Linked DNA regions of Homo sapiens: region 1 is linked to region 2. Evidence: promoter capture Hi-C in human tissues and cell types (Jung and others, 2019). All regions are on one chromosome and are shown on one strand. The core of a region is centred on a gene start or on the middle of the fragment in contact, and the rest is flanking DNA. Distances in the headings are between cores, read along the strand shown.

Region 1 (4,278 bases), core at 1,223-3,722, 110 kb before region 2:
TTTTAAAGAGACAAACTCTAGGAATAGAACAACTGGGAAGAATATATTAAAGGACAACCATAATCTAGTAATCAGCCATACTTTAGAAACAGAAGACATATGATTTCCCTGCAGAAACAAATTAGAAAGGAAGAAGCTTCTACAGTGATTAAAACACTGGTTGAATTGTCAACAGATGTAAGAATACCACAATGTAAGATGTAAGAACACCACAATGCATCTCTGCTGCTTTCCCCTTACAGAGATTCAATACAAACATTTACAACAAATATTGAGTTTTGGCTAGGCATGGTGGCTCATGCCTGTAATCCCAGCACTGTGGGAGGCTGAGGCGGGCAGATCACTTGAGGTCAGGAGTTCGAGACCAGCCTGGCCAACATGGTGAAACCCCATCTCTACTAAAAACACAAAAATTAGCTGGGCGTGGTGGCGGGCACCTGTAATCCCAGCTACTCAGGAGGCTGGGGCAGGAGAATCACTTTAACCCGGGAGGCAGAGGTTGCAGTTAGCTAAGATTGCACCACTGCACTCCAGCCTGGGCAACACAACGACACTCCTTCCCCCCGCCCCCCAAAAAAATCAAAAGCCCGGGCACGGTGGCTCAGGCCTGTAATCCCAGCAATTTGGGAGGCCGAGGCGGGTGGATCACCTGAGGTCAGGAGTTCAAGACCAGCCTGACCAACATGGTGAAACCCTGTATCTACTAAAAATACAAAATTAGCTGGGCATGGTGGTGCATGCCTGTAATCCTAGCTACTTGGGAGGCTGAGGCAGGAGAATCGCTTAAACCCGGGAGGCGGAGGTTGCAGTGAGCTGACATCGTACCATCGCACTCCAGACTGGGCAACAAGAGTGAAACTCTGTCTCAAAGAGACAAAAATAAAATAAAATAAAATAATATATATATACACATATATATGTGTGTATATGTATACGTATATATATACATATATATATATATAGAGAGAGAGAGAGAGAGAGAAGGAGAGAGAGAAAGAGAGTTTCTACTATATTCAAGGCACTGTTCTGGGCACTGCATATAGTGATGATGTAAAAAAAAAAAAAAACACCACAACCGCAGCACCACGTTCCATGAATTACCAATAAATAGGCAAAATAGAGTAATCTGACCAGCTGGAACTTCAGCTGAGAATGAGAGAAAACAGAACATTTGTGAAGCTAATGCATAAGCAGTTAAAAAAGCTTAAAAATGTCTGAAGTTGTCTTTTAAAGATATCTAAAGTTGTCTTTAAAGACGACCTTAATGAAGTGCAAGTAAATATAAAAGCCATCAAAAAGTCACAAAATCCATGTTTTTTTTGAGACAGGATCTTGCTAAGTCACCCAGGCTGGAGTGCTGTGGTGCCATCTCCGCTCACTGTAAATTCCAGCTTCCAGGCTCAAGCAATTCTTGCCTCTAGGCCTCCTGAGTAGCTGACACTACAAGTGCCTGCCACTACATCTGGCTAATTTTTGTATTTTTAGTAGAGATGGGGTTTCACCATATTGCTCAGGCTGGTCTCAAACTCCTGGGCTTGAGTGATCTGCTCACCTCAGCCTCCAAAGTGCTGGGATTACAGGTGTAAGCCAATGAGCCCGGCCTAAAATCCACTTTCAAAAGACAATTAAAACTGGGCTGGGCTTGGTGGCTCACGCCTGTAATCCCAGCACTTGGGGAGGCCAAGGCAGGAAGATGCCTTGAGGACAGGAGTTTGAGACCATACTGGGCAATAGAGCAAGACTCTGTCTCTCCAAAAAATTTTTCTTAAAAAAATTAGCTGGGCATGGTGGCATGCACCTGCAGTCCTAGCCACTGAAAATATTGAGGCAGAAGGACCACTTGAGCCCAGGAGCTGGAGTGAGCTATCATCGCACCACTGCACTCCAGCCTGGGTGACAGAGAAAAACCTTGTCGAAAAAGAGAAAAGAGGGGAAAAAAGACCATTAAACTGATAAAGGCCAAGAACCTACACTGACATCTTTAAAGTACTTATTTCTTCTTTTTAAGTAATGCAAATACATATGTGAAAATCAAGATAAAAAAAATTACGCAGGTGATTCTCTGATTTGCAAAAGTATTCAAAATAGGATTCAAGTCATGTTAATGGACTTAAATATCATTTCATTTATTGAAACTGTGATCACATGAAACTTTCAGAAACACTGAATAAAAAATGGTACATTTATTTCCAAACCAAAGCTTAATTTTTGCAAATTTCTCCTGAAAATGAGTCTTTAGGTGGCATAGAAACAATTATTACTTTCAGCATCGTTTAGATATTTTTCTAAGCAACTCTAACATATGATATATGCTACCTCTCAGAAAACATTAACTGAAAACATTGAGCACATTACTTAATCCCTAGAGAGTTTTTAAGGTTTAAAAAAAAAGGAAAAACTTTCTACCCAAAATAGAGTTCAAATTATCCAGTACTACAAAAACCTACTATATTCTTGCCATGGCCTTTTTAGTGACCTATACAACAACCAAATTAATTTGATTTTTTTCTTCCTTTATTTATTTTTTAAAACAGGGTCTCACCATCGCCCAGGCTGGAGTGCAGTGGCATAACCACGGCTCACTGCAGCCTCAACCTCCTGGGCTCAAGTAATCCTCCCATCTCAGCTTCCTAAGAAGCTGGGACTACAGGTGCACACCACCACATGTGGCTAATTCTTGTTATTTTTTGTAGAGACGGGATTTCACCATGTTGCCCGCCCAGTTTGTTCTTGAACTTCTGAGCTCAAGCAATTTGCCCACTTTGGCCCCACAAGGTGCTGGGATTACAGACATGAGCCATGGTGCCTGGCCAATTTGATTTTCAAATACAGATGTTTTCTAAGGCACACAAGTTTAATTATGACCTAAACGAATTTCCATCTGATACTTTCCATCTAGGATAAAATAGTTCAATTTTAATCATATAACTAAATATATTAATAAACAGGAACAAAGGTGGGGCAAAAGGCTTTAGTGAAAGTGTTGTTAAATCAGAATGTTAGGCCTGGGAAGGATATCTCATCCAGGGATAACATGATATCCTCAAGCCCTTAGAAGAGATAATAAAGAGAATTCATGAGTTACTTTCAATTAAAAAAAAAAAACCTAAAGAAAATCATACTTTTACATGAGATACAACTGTTTTAGCTAAAATTATACTGACTCACTAAAGATTGCCTCAAGCTAACCACCATGCTAAGATCAATTTGTTTTTTCAAATGGGAAAGCCAAATTAATAAATACAATTTTGGGGTAAAATAGTCTAAAACATGGGGCTGAGGAGATACGGAAAAAAACAGTTAAGTCTTTAGTTTAAAGAAAAAAAAAAGGCCAGGCATGGTGGCTCACGGCTGTAATCCCAGCACTGTGGGAGGCCAAGGCAGGCAGACTACTTGAGGTCAGGAGGTCGAGATCAGCCTGGCCAACATGGCAAAACCTCGTCTGCATTTAAAATACAAAAATTAGCTGGGCGTGGTGGCATGTTCCTGTAATCCCAGCTACTTGGGAGGCTGAGGCAGGAGAATCACTTGAAACTGGGAGGCAGAAGTTGCAGTGAGCCGAGATCACACCATTGCACTCCAGTCTGGGGCAACAAGAGAGAATCTCCATCTCACGGGGGGAAAAAAAGTGGTAGCACTTTTGTGCCCTGAGTTTTACTTATGTTTATATCCATATCTGACACAGTATGTAGGCCAGAATGGCATTTAGTTAAAAAGCATTTGTTGACTCAGAGAATGAACATGTTCGTAGCGGGTCTGAAACTTGTTCAACTGTAAATACTTAGTCATCATGATGCGCGCCGCTTAACATCACAAGATACTAATGATTTAACTCTCATAATCAAGGAATTATTTTATCAAGTAGAACATATCACTATATTAGAAAGGTCTCCATATATCAAAAAATATGTAAACTTTTATAATGAAATATTTGAGTTTTACATTACTGGTCATTAGAGCCTTAAGGCTTGTTCAATTTCATTTCTTGTTATCACTCAGTAGTCAAGGAGAAGGAAGCATCAAATGTTTAAGAAAAAAATACTAAAGAACTTACATTCAACATATATCGACAAACTTTTAAAAAACTGAATTGGAAAGTTGCCATAACCAGTTTCAGTGAAGGAAAACCTCAAGTCAGCCCCCATAATAATGGTGTTTTCCAGGAAATTAGGTTTAGGGTAAGTGGTCTGTTAGAAATTCTGAAAACATTTTTCCTCTTTTTAAAAAACAGGTCACAGTAAAAATTAATGGCTTCCTTCAAGTACCCAGTACACTCCT
Region 2 (4,456 bases), core at 5-2,504:
CCGCGTCACACACGCCACCCCTCTCTGGTGTGGAACCACTTAAGATTTGGGTAAAACTCCCCTCTCGCCCTGGAGACGGGATCTGGAAGCTTTTAGGGGGCGGAGGTAGAGGTGGGGAGGCAGAAGGAAAATTCCCTCAAACGTTCGTCAGGCCTAAGAGAGTCGTCCCTTCACTCAAAATTGCCCGTCACCCCCCGCCCCCCACCATTAACTTTCGATTAAGACCTCCTCCTTAGGGCAACTAAACTTTACTTTGCACAATTAAGATTTGCCGCAGAAGAAGCGGGAGGGAGAAGCCGCAGCTCCGGGCCATTCTCCTTTCCCTCGCTCCCTCCAAGCCCCCCGCCCCAACCCTCCAGCTCCGGGCCTCCGAGTTCCTGAGTTTTCTCACTTTGAGGTGCCACCGAACACAAAGAACCATAATGGGCTCCTTTGTGTTGGCTACGGGGCAATTACGCCTCGGAGTCCTGGTCCCTTTAAGAGTCTCTTAAAGAGACAGGATCCCATTTTTCAGAGGGTTTTTTAAGGGTGTGTGGAGGGGGAGGGCGAGGGATCTACGTGTAAAGTGAAGTGAAACTTTCGCCTGGGCTCCAGAAAGAGCGGACAGAAAAGGTCTTTGTAAATTGTTAGTTTTTTTAAAGTCTGTTTTAATTTTTAAATTTGAGATTTTTCACTCGATTTGAAAAATTGGACTAGGAATAGGTGGGGTTCGAGGATCGGGGGCGGGGGCAAGGGTTTAAAGAGTCCCCACCCGGCAGAGCACCTCGGCCCGGGAAGAGGAGTGAGCCAGGGTCGAGTAGTGTCCCCCGATCTCGCCGCGGCAACTCCGGAGAAATCCCGGGCTGGGCAAACAGCCCTTAATATAATAATAGCTTGTCTCTTTAAAAAGCAAAAGGGGGGGAAAGTTTTGTTGGCATCTGGTTTCTGATCTCATTATGTTGTGGTCGACCAATCCAGCCCTCGGGCCTGGTCCTCGGGTTTAAATCTGATTGGCCGAGAGCACATTTTGGGTTGGTGCTTAGAGCTCGACGGGGCGGTTTCAAGGATCCCTTTTTTGGGGGGCTGAGGAGAGGGCGGGGCCGCCAGCGGGGGCCCCCTTGAAACCGACTAATTGGGATCGGAGAGGCCGAGGTGAGGGCTGGAGGAGGCACAAAGAAGTCGCTGGGTGCAGAAGGGAGGGGAGAGGGGGAGCTGAGAGGCGAGAGGAGGAGGAAGAGGAGAGAGGGCAGCAGCGCGCGGTGTCTCCGGCTGCTCAGTCCGACCGCGGCAAGCAAGCGGGCAGGCGCACCGCCCCCTCCCCCGCCCGGCCTCCCCAACTCTGCGGCCGCGAGTAAAGTTTGCAAAGAGGCGCGGGAGGCGGCAGCCGCAGCGAGGAGGCGGCGGGGAAGAAGCGCAGTCTCCGGGTTGGGGGCGGGGGCGGGGGGGGCGCCAAGGAGCCGGGTGGGGGGCGGCGGCCAGCATGCGGCCCCGCAGCGCCCTGCCCCGCCTGCTGCTGCCGCTGCTGCTGCTGCCCGCCGCCGGGCCGGCCCAGTTCCACGGGGAGAAGGGCATCTCCATCCCGGACCACGGCTTCTGCCAGCCCATCTCCATCCCGCTGTGCACGGACATCGCCTACAACCAGACCATCATGCCCAACCTTCTGGGCCACACGAACCAGGAGGACGCAGGCCTAGAGGTGCACCAGTTCTATCCGCTGGTGAAGGTGCAGTGCTCGCCCGAACTGCGCTTCTTCCTGTGCTCCATGTACGCACCCGTGTGCACCGTGCTGGAACAGGCCATCCCGCCGTGCCGCTCTATCTGTGAGCGCGCGCGCCAGGGCTGCGAAGCCCTCATGAACAAGTTCGGTTTTCAGTGGCCCGAGCGCCTGCGCTGCGAGCACTTCCCGCGCCACGGCGCCGAGCAGATCTGCGTCGGCCAGAACCACTCCGAGGACGGAGCTCCCGCGCTACTCACCACCGCGCCGCCGCCGGGACTGCAGCCGGGTGCCGGGGGCACCCCGGGTGGCCCGGGCGGCGGCGGCGCTCCCCCGCGCTACGCCACGCTGGAGCACCCCTTCCACTGCCCGCGCGTCCTCAAGGTGCCATCCTATCTCAGCTACAAGTTTCTGGGCGAGCGTGATTGTGCTGCGCCCTGCGAACCTGCGCGGCCCGATGGTTCCATGTTCTTCTCACAGGAGGAGACGCGTTTCGCGCGCCTCTGGATCCTCACCTGGTCGGTGCTGTGCTGCGCTTCCACCTTCTTCACTGTCACCACGTACTTGGTAGACATGCAGCGCTTCCGCTACCCAGAGCGGCCTATCATTTTTCTGTCGGGCTGCTACACCATGGTGTCGGTGGCCTACATCGCGGGCTTCGTGCTCCAGGAGCGCGTGGTGTGCAACGAGCGCTTCTCCGAGGACGGTTACCGCACGGTGGTGCAGGGCACCAAGAAGGAGGGCTGCACCATCCTCTTCATGATGCTCTACTTCTTCAGCATGGCCAGCTCCATCTGGTGGGTCATCCTGTCGCTCACCTGGTTCCTGGCAGCCGGCATGAAGTGGGGCCACGAGGCCATCGAGGCCAACTCTCAGTACTTCCACCTGGCCGCCTGGGCCGTGCCGGCCGTCAAGACCATCACCATCCTGGCCATGGGCCAGATCGACGGCGACCTGCTGAGCGGCGTGTGCTTCGTAGGCCTCAACAGCCTGGACCCGCTGCGGGGCTTCGTGCTAGCGCCGCTCTTCGTGTACCTGTTCATCGGCACGTCCTTCCTCCTGGCCGGCTTCGTGTCGCTCTTCCGCATCCGCACCATCATGAAGCACGACGGCACCAAGACCGAAAAGCTGGAGCGGCTCATGGTGCGCATCGGCGTCTTCTCCGTGCTCTACACAGTGCCCGCCACCATCGTCATCGCTTGCTACTTCTACGAGCAGGCCTTCCGCGAGCACTGGGAGCGCTCGTGGGTGAGCCAGCACTGCAAGAGCCTGGCCATCCCGTGCCCGGCGCACTACACGCCGCGCATGTCGCCCGACTTCACGGTCTACATGATCAAATACCTCATGACGCTCATCGTGGGCATCACGTCGGGCTTCTGGATCTGGTCGGGCAAGACGCTGCACTCGTGGAGGAAGTTCTACACTCGCCTCACCAACAGCCGACACGGTGAGACCACCGTGTGAGGGACGCCCCCAGGCCGGAACCGCGCGGCGCTTTCCTCCGCCCGGGGTGGGGCCCCTACAGACTCCGTATTTTATTTTTTTAAATAAAAAACGATCGAAACCATTTCACTTTTAGGTTGCTTTTTAAAAGAGAACTCTCTGCCCAACACCCCCACAAGGTTTGTAATTAAAACTGTAAATAGTCTTTGTAAATTTAATTATATATATTTTCTATTTAAAAGAAAAAAGGAGAAAAAAAAACAGGGGTGTGGGCGCCAGGACTGAAGAATGAGGTGTGTGTGTGTTGGGGAGTGTAGTTGGGGGGAGGGTTCTCTTTCTTAAGTGCCCTTCAAAACCCGCCCCACTTTTGGAGTTTTTTGGTGATATGGCAGGGCTGGGCCTGATGGGAGAGGCACCCAGCCTGAGCGCTGTTTTTGTTGGCTTTGAGTCGTTAGGAGTTTGTTCCATTCAACTAATATAAAAGCCAAATTTGTGAGCCTCCTCTCTGACGCTGGGCCTGTGGAAGCCGTTGGATATTTTTGAACAGGACTTGGATTCGTTTTGTTTCCTTCCCCCTTTTCTTTCCCTACTCATTTGTCCTGTCTTCTTCACTCACTCTTGGAAAAGTCCCAACAGAGATGAAGACGTGGAAAAAAAAATCGGGGTCGGGGTGTGCTGGTGGGGAGAGGGCAGAGATCCGGTGAGGAATGGCTTCCACCCCCTGGCCCATTCCCCTGCAGGCTGGAAGATCTTTCTCCTGTCTGGCTTCTCTTCTTTTCAATTCGCTGCACCAAGTGCTTCCAGTGGCCCAAAAATGCTTTTTGAAGTGTGTTTTGAAACAGCCCCCACCAACATACACCCCACCAGGAGTACTGATCCTGCCTCCCTTCATGTCTAGGGGAAGCATTCGCCTTTGAGCACTTGTTTGCAAATCTGGGGAGTTTGAGACCTCCTAGCATCTCTTCCCTTCTTTCCCTGCAGTCTATTCACTCCCGCAGCCAAAAATCTCTGGCGTTCAGGTTAGCAGTTTCTGGGTTGGTTTGTGTGGGTTTTTGTTGTTGTTTGGGGCTTATTTTTTTCAAAAAGTGATAAAGACGGGTGGGTTGGAGGGAGGGGACTGATGGGCTGGTGGGCTTTTTAGTTTTCCTTTGAGAAAAAGACTGGTTTATTTAAAATTTGTCCAGAAAAAAATGAAAAAAAAAAAAAAGGTGGTATCTTTGCTTTAGAAGAAGTCTCTGGATAGGCCCTTTGTGGCTGTGGGGGTGGGTTGAGTGTTTACATTACATTCTATATCACAAGATTGATAGGATGTTTAAAGCA

What was found. Contacts are between HindIII fragments. The study calls those that stand out against the background at their distance.
Region 1: a contact is called between a fragment that was not itself captured here and the fragment with the promoter of FZD2 in region 2, in 2 of the 25 tissues and cell types used here (IMR-90 fibroblasts and mesendoderm cells).

What each region holds. Positions count from the first base shown.
Region 1 is chr17:44,441,162-44,445,439 of GRCh38, forward strand. All of the region lies in intron 3 of GPATCH8 (G-patch domain containing 8), which reads right to left. Among named protein-coding and RNA genes, the nearest start is that of ITGA2B, 54 kb to the left of the region's middle. The HindIII fragment of the contact is 3,607 bases long and covers 670-4,276 here.
Region 2 is chr17:44,556,230-44,560,685 of GRCh38, forward strand. FZD2 (frizzled class receptor 2) reads left to right here and starts at 1,255. Exons shown (of 1, transcript NM_001466.4): 1 at 1,255-4,456. The coding sequence starts at 1,460. The coding sequence ends at 3,157. RefSeq lists enhancers at 1-519, 520-1,287, 1,505-2,465 and silencers at 962-1,061, 1,460-1,706, 1,952-2,001. The HindIII fragment of the contact is 9,533 bases long and covers 1-4,456 here.